Linked DNA regions of Homo sapiens: region 2 is linked to region 1. Evidence: promoter capture Hi-C in 16 types of primary human blood cells and fetal thymus (Javierre and others, 2016). All regions are on one chromosome and are shown on one strand. The core of a region is centred on a gene start or on the middle of the fragment in contact, and the rest is flanking DNA. Distances in the headings are between cores, read along the strand shown.

Region 1 (3,726 bases), core at 426-2,925:
TTACAGAAGGGGGAAACTGAAACTCAGAGAGCAGAAGCGGCCCTTTCTGAGATCTGAATCAAACCCAGATCCACCTCTCCTGGCTGATGGCTGTTCAGCTCCTCCCACTTCTCCATCCCTGGAGAGGAAGTTAAGAGCTAAGCTGCTTAGCTGCAGGTCAAAAGGCAGCTGAAGTTTGAGCGGTGCCACAGTCCCCTTAACCCCTCCTTTATTTTGTCCCTCATTGGTGTCTTTCATTGTACTACCTCAAAGCTACCACGTTGAGCTCCTCCCCTGGGATAGATAAGTCTTTTTGAAGGACAGAACAGGTTGTCTCTCAGGAGAGGAGAATGAGGATTCTACCCACATTCAGAGCCAGCCAGGGTGGGGGGCTTCTGTCTTTCTGTAGCCCTTGATGCTGTTCCCTTTTCCTCTTCTTGAGGCAAACACACTCCTGGAATCAGAGGGGAAGCTTCCTGATATACCTCAGTGTCCATGGCTCCAAACCTGCTGGTGTCACCTGAGGCAGGCCCAGAGAGAGACGACACAGTCACTGCTTCAGGCCCAGGGAAGCTCACAGTCACCAACTCCTCCGACGACACTTGGTCACTCAGAACTCTAAACTGTGGGTCAGGAGCGCGACCTTGCTTGCTGTTGTATCCCCGACAGAACTCAGTATCACCACCCTCATTTTGCGGAAAGACATCATGTAAATGACTCGCTCATAAACACCTCTGCCTCTCTTCAACACTGTAATTAACTGCATTTCATGCTCCTTTCCATCACAGTATGGAAGACCACTAAGCACTGGACAGCAAGACTTGGTTCAGTCTAAGAACCAACTAAGCTTCATAGATGGGGGAAACCTATCCCAGTGATCTCGCCTTACACTTTGAAAACCAAGGTAGGAGACAGATGAGATGGAAGGTAGGGCCGTTTCCAGAACAAGAGTAGTCGCTAATATGGGAACTAGTATAAACAACTCCTACCTGACCTGGGCGACGTATGCTGGGCCCTGCGCTAAGCCTTTTACAAGTATTACATCACTGAATCTAAATGACCATAACAGGGAGGACTTCAGAAAAAGGAAATAACCCGCACCAGGCATGCACAGCAAGTCAGCAGTGGGGTCATGATTAAGCCTGCGCCAAAGTGTAGAGGGTGCCCCTGGGAATCCAGGCCAGGCAGATGAGTGGCCCAGGTCGCGATGGTGACCGACAGGAAGGCCGCAGCTGGGACCCACGGCGAGGCTCGACCGTGCTGGGGGTCGGGCTCGCGTGTACACACTTACCGGGGTGCAGGTGAGCGCGCAATGCGCGTGCACAGACCAATGCCCCGAGAGGACAGTGAGCGCGTGCGCGAGGCAGATGGTGGCAAGCACGAGCAGCGCAGCTTCGGGGATCTGCACCCAACTGCTGCCCCAGCCCCAGCAGCCAGCGGCTGCGGCACCCAACCAGGCCGGGTAAAGCAGCCCGGCGAATGGCAGCACCGTGAGGCGCCGCAACAGCGCCAACCGCCGGTACGGCCACACGGCAGCCACCAGCTCGTCACCGTTCGCTATGAGCGCCGGCCCGGCGGCAAGGAGCGCGCGCGGCTGCGGCCCGGGCTTGGGCTGCCCGTCAGGCCGGACCCCGCAAGGCCGGGCCCCGCAGGGCACCGCGTTGCCCACCGCCGCCGCTGCCGCCATCTTTCCTAGCGCCGCGCTCACTTCCGGGCAGAGGAACGCCTCACTTCCGAAGTTTTACTTCCGGTAAGCCCTGAGCGCCGCCATGGCAGCCTGGACTAGGAAGAGCCAGGGCAACAGAACAGGCTGGCCCCGGCAGGGACTACTTCGGGTGCCGCCATGACAGGCTGTGGCCGGAAGAAGAGGCTGGGCGTCGCCATGACAGAGAGGGACTGGAAGACCTAACGGTGCCTGCCTCCGCTGCCACGCCGGACTGAGACCGGAAAAGACAAGGCCGGCAAGGCGGGCTTGGGCGCCACCATGACAACCTGAACCAAAAAAAGCGAGCCCTCCTCCTTGACTACACCAGCACCACCTGTCACCAGGGGCGAAGCCTGGACCCTGCGGAGGCGGGGTCGGGAGCTTCGGAGTTCAGGAGGCGGGGCCCGGTGCGGGGGGCGGGGCTTGTGAGGGGCGGGGTCGGGGACCGCCCCGGAACACAACCACACCGGACAAGAGCCTTAATGTGATAGATAAGAATTACAAATACTAGCCGGGCGCGGTGGCTCACGCCTGTAATCCCAACACTTTGGGAGGCGAGGCGGGTGGATCACCTGAGATCAGGAGTTCAAGACCCAACATGGTGAAACCACGTCTCTACTAAAAATACAAAAATTAGCCGGGCGTGGTGGCACATGCCTGTAATCCCAGCTACTCGGGAGGATGAGGCAGGAGAATTGCTTGAGCCCGGGAGACGGAGGTTGCAGTGAGCCAAGATTGCTCCACTGCACTTCAGCCTGGCCAACAGAGCAAGACTGTCTCAAAAAAAAAAAAAAGAAAAATGAATTACAAAAACCACTTTAGGCCGGGCGCGGTGGCTCACGCCTGTAATCCCAGCACTTTGGGAGGCCGAGGTCAGGAGATCGAGACCATCCTGGCTAACGCGGTGAAACCCCGTCTCCACTAAAAATACAAAAAAAAAAAAAAAATTCTCCGGGCGTGGTGGCGGGCGCCTGTAGTCCCAGCTACTCCGGAGCCTGAGGCAGAATGGCGCGAACTGGAGAGGCAGAGCTTGCAGTGAGCGGAGATTGTGCCACTGCCCTCCAGCCTGGGCGACAGAGCGAGACTCTGTCTCCAAAAAAAAAAAAAAAAAAAAAAAGAAATTACCACTTTAACATAAAAAATGAAAAACTGGTGTTTACTTGAAATTATATACTTCTAGGCCGGGCGCGGTGGCTCACCCCTGTAATTCCAGCACTTTGGGAGGCCGAGGCGGGCGGATCACGAGTTCAGGAGATCGAGACCGTCCTGGCTAACACAGTGAAACCCCGTCTCTACTAAAAATACAAAAAATTAGCCGGGCGTGGTTGCAGGCGCCTGTAGTCCCAGCTACTCGGGAGGCTGAGGCAGGAGAATGGCCTGAACCTGGGAGGCGGAGCTTGCAGTGAGCCGAGATCGCGCCACTGCACTCCAGCCTGGGCGACAGAGCGAGACTCTGTCTGAAAAAAAAAAAAAAAAGAAATTATATAGTTCTATATTATTAACTGTACTGTTGCATAAATGCTATTTGAACAAAACCACAATAGGACTACTTAACAGTACCAATTAGTAGGATTAAACAGTATGTGTGACAAACAGTAACTATTTTATGTTTCTTTTTGTCCTCTGATACAGCAAATTTATTTAAACTTAAAATTTATTGGATATTTAAATTTTGTAGCTTATATTGTTGCATATTCTTTTTTTAATTTTTCGAGATGAAGTCTCACTCTGTCGCCCAGGCTGGAGTGCAGTGGCGCGATGTCCGCTCACTGCAAACTCCACTTTCCGAGTTCAATCGATTCTCCCATTTCAGCCTCCCAAGTAACTGGGATTACAGGCGCATGCCACCGCTCCGGCTAATTTTTGTACTTTTTTTTTTAGACGGAGTCTCACTCTGTTGCCCAGGCTGGAGTGCGGTGGTGCGATCTCAGCTCACTGCAACCTACGCCTCCTGGGTTCCAGCGGTTCTCCTGCCTCAGCCTCCCGGGTAGCTGGGACTACAGGCGCGTGCCACCATGCCTGGCTAATTTTTTGTATTTTCA
Region 2 (3,971 bases), core at 1,472-3,971, 1.1 Mb after region 1:
GTATTGTATAAAATGTCCTTTAACTCTCCCCGGTAATCACTATCAATTATTCCACCATACATTATTATGCTTCTCATTGCAAGGCTTGAACATGTTGTAATCCATTTACCCACATTCAAGATCACAGTTATGGTGGAAATTTTTGCCTGTTGATCTTCCTGCTGATTAAATAGTCTGTCAAGAGGAAGCAGAGACACACTAGCATCAACATGGAAAACAGGGCCAGGCACAGTGACTCACACCTGTAATCCCAGCATTTTGGGAGGCTGAGGTGGGCAGATCACAAGGTCAAGAGATTGGGACCATCCTGGCCAACATGGCAAAACCCCGTCTCTAAAATTACAAAAATAAACTGAGCATGGTGGCTCATACCTCTAATCCCAGCACTTTGGGAGGCCAAGGCCTGCTGATCAGGAGGTCAAGAGATGGAGACCATCCTGTTTAACATGGTGAAACCTCATCTCTACTAAAAATACAAAAATTAGCTGGGTATGGTGGTGTGTGCCTGTAGTCCCAGCTACTCGGGAGGCTGAGGCAGGAGAATTGCTTGAACCTGGGACATGAAGGTTGTGGTGAACCCAGATTGTGCCACTGCACTCCAGCCTAATGAAAGAGTGAGACTGCATCTAAAAAATGAATAAATAAAAAATAATACAAAATTAGCTGGGCGTGGCAGCCTGTGCCTGTAATCCAAGCTACTTGGGAGGCAGAGGCCAGAAGAATCACTTGAACCGTGGAGATGGAGGTGGCAGTGAGCTGAGATTGCACCACTGCACTTCAATTTGGTGACAGGGCTGGATTCCATCTCAAAAACAAAAAACAACAACAAAAAAACATGGAACACAGTGACGATGGGAGTATGCACCAGGATTCAGATACCTTACCAATATTGTTTTCCCCAAACCTCTTTATTCCGCATTAACCATTTGTTTCATTGCCACTTGGGCACCCAGGTAGTAAGACCATTTGCTACTGACAAAGAGTTGATATAAAAGTAACAAATCCCTCTGGCCTCCTCCTGAATAGCTCGGAGAAACGACTACTAGTTCAGCTAACTGGCTGCTCCCACCCCTTCCTTCATCAGAAATGCTTATGTTTTTAACAGGATTATAAGCCACAGCCCTCCAGCATTGGGTCCCACCAAAGTATTTGGTGGATCCATCAGTAAACCAAGCATGTTTCTGATCCTCTGGGCTTAGTTCTTTAAAGGATTTGCCCCATTTGATGTGTGTGTGTGGGGGGTGTTTCTTTCCCTATCTGCAGGACTTGCTTGGTTGTTTCCTGAGCTCGCAGGTTTTCCACATCCTCATGTAAAAGTGATAGCCCCTATGATTTTGGCTTAGCCTGGTTTTGTATGTCCCATTTCCATTTTATGATGCTACTTTCTGGGCATGCCCTATCTGGTGGGTTTTGGGGGAACTCATGACCAAAGTCATAATAGAAATTTCAGGCCTCATAAAGACATCGTGGTTGAAGCAGAGGTGTTCCATTTCCAGCAAAGCTCAATAGCAAGCTAACAATTGCTTCTCAAAAGAGGAATAAGCTTTTCCAGCCTCTGGCAGTTTCTGGGTCCAAAACATGAAAAGTACCCTCTTTCCATCTTGTTTCTGCCTAAGGCTCCAATTAGCATGTTGATCTACGACAGTTACTCGCAGTTCATCAGGCCCATCCCATATAGGCCATAGATCCAGGGCCAGTTGCACTGCTTGTTTAGCTTGTTCAAAAGCCATGCTGTCTTTCTCTCCACAGTGAGAGTCATACCTTTTTCTAGTGGCTGCATTCAGATGTTGTAAAATGTTACCCAAGTAAGGAATATGATGTGTTCAGAATCCAAACAAGTCAATACATTTCTGGGCCTCCTTCTTAGTGGTAGGGGTTGCAAATTATAGTATTTTAGCCTTAGCCTTTGGTGAAGTGGACTGTTTCTTTGCATTCCATAGGATGCCAAAGAATTTTACACTTTGTGCGGATCCTTAATTTTACTAGGCTTAATTTCCCATTTTTGAGATAGGAACTGGGTTTTTACATGCTCTAAGCCCCGGCTGACTAGTTCTTCAGTTTTACCCTGATTGGGCCACCTGGACAGCTGCTTTTTTCAGCAATAGGCTGATAGCTTTGAGCCTGATCAGTCAAGACATTGACTGGCATTGGGCCAGGGCCAGTCCGGAAGTCAGATTAGCATTTTCCTTTTCCAGCTTATATTTCTCTTGTAGCAACCAGCCCCTATCTTGACACATTAACTTATAAGCAGCAATCAAACACTATCCACTTTGTGAGATTCCCTCAGCATCTCCTTTGGTGACTGGAATCCCCTGCAGCACTTCACGCACAGTCAAAGGTTTAAATTGCACTAATTTAGATTCCCAATTCCCACAAAGGCCAGTTCCCCTGAACCATTCAATCACAAAGAAGGAGAACTGGGAGTGATCCCATCTCAGGATATGGGAAATCCTTGAGCCTCCAGCCCTATCCTTCTGGTCAAAAAGGGGCCCACTTTTGTTTTCAAATCCTGTTTGTGATGCCAAAAATGTTCTGTATGGGAAACGTGGGAGAGGAGAAGAAAAGACATACATACAATAACTTTAATGGTAAACAAGCTTTAACCCACATCAATATCAATGCAGACAGAATAAACTAATGATATAATAAGCAAATGATATAATAAGCAAATAAATATAATACACAGATTGATATAATAAGCAAATTGCAGTAAGAAGAGGAGATGGGAAAAGATATATATATATATTTACCCTCACTAGACTATGGAGGATTACCAACTGAGTAGGAAGAAACAGCCCAGGCTCCAGAGTCGGCCACCCATTCATGCACAGACAAGGAGTCTCATGAAGCTTCAGGGTGGTCTGGGACCCTAGCTCTTTTGTAACGAGTTGTTTGGCATAAGGCCCAGTGAGGAGGGCCATTTGGGACTTGCCTCACGGAACACAAAAGGGTCAAGTTGTTTTTGTGATTGTCTATTGTTTTTCAACAACTAATGTATAGTAATAGAATGAAATAGACATTTCTTTGATACAGCTCTGGATGAACACCTCAGGGGCTCACAACCAGGACCTGTTCTGGGACTTGGTGACCATTGTGTCCACGTTCAATTGAGTTCAAATTTAACATTTAACTTTTCCTCCATAAATTCTCCTGTCTTCATGAATTGGCTCTGTCTAGGCAAAGGGCAAAATGAACCCCTTGGGCTGTTACATAACCTCCACCTCCTGGGTTCAAGTGATTCTCCTGCCTCAGCCTCCGGAGTAGCTGGGACCACAGATGTGCACCACCATACCCAGCTAATTTTTTACATTGTGAGTAGAGATGGGGTTTCACCATGTTGGCCAGGCTAGTCTTGAACTCCTGACCTCAAGTGATCCACCCACCTTGGCCTCCCAAAGTGTTGGGATTACTGGCATGAGCTACCTGTGCCTGACCCTAAATTATTTCTATCTCTTATAGCAGTTTGAAATTACTTAAAGGTTGTTTCAAGTTGAAAAAATAAGAAGAATGTGGATAAAAATAAAATATAAATAGATAAAAAAATTACAGGGATTACAAAATATATATGTAAATCTGGAGTGGTCAAAAATGACAAATTTGATTTATTTATAAGGTTTTATTAAAATTAGCTTTAATCGTTAATACACTATTACCAAAGTAAAAGCTGATTTTCTCTTGAACAAAAATTTTATGTATTATTAATATGACAGCAAAATACTTCTGTTCACCTTTGAATACATTCAACAAGACAGAGAGTAAAAAAGAGATAAAATGTTCCCATGCTCTGGCATGGACCAGGCTCAGCTCTGGGAGGAAGCCCTGCCTGAAAAGGCTGCAGCTTAGGCTGTCACTCTTTTCTTCACTCCGCCCAGCAGCTGATCACATCTTCTGTCACTCAGTGTCTGAGGGGGCGGGACCTTAAGCATTAGCCAATCAGAGGCGCTGGGCTGGAAACCGTCCAATCAGGCACG

What was found. Contacts are between HindIII fragments. The CHiCAGO score rates a contact against its expected background, and 5 or more counts as called.
Region 2: a fragment that was not itself captured here is called in contact with the fragment with the promoter of ATP13A1 in region 1 in 1 of 17 cell types (non-activated CD4 T cells); the score reaches 5.4 in non-activated CD4 T cells.

The regions. Positions count from the first base shown.
Region 1 is chr19:19,662,001-19,665,726 of GRCh38, forward strand. It overlaps ATP13A1 (ATPase 13A1), which reads right to left and starts at 1,676. Exons shown (of 26, transcript NM_020410.3): 1 at 1,271-1,676. The coding sequence starts at 1,666. RefSeq lists enhancers at 1-69, 843-892, 1,024-2,006, 1,278-1,379, 1,723-2,012 and 1 more and silencers at 1,413-1,672, 2,113-2,162. The HindIII fragment of the contact is 4,289 bases long and covers 825-3,726 here.
Region 2 is chr19:20,772,289-20,776,259 of GRCh38, forward strand. No RefSeq gene overlaps it. Among named protein-coding and RNA genes, the nearest start is that of ZNF66, 2.0 kb to the right of the region's middle. The HindIII fragment of the contact is 252 bases long and covers 2,596-2,847 here.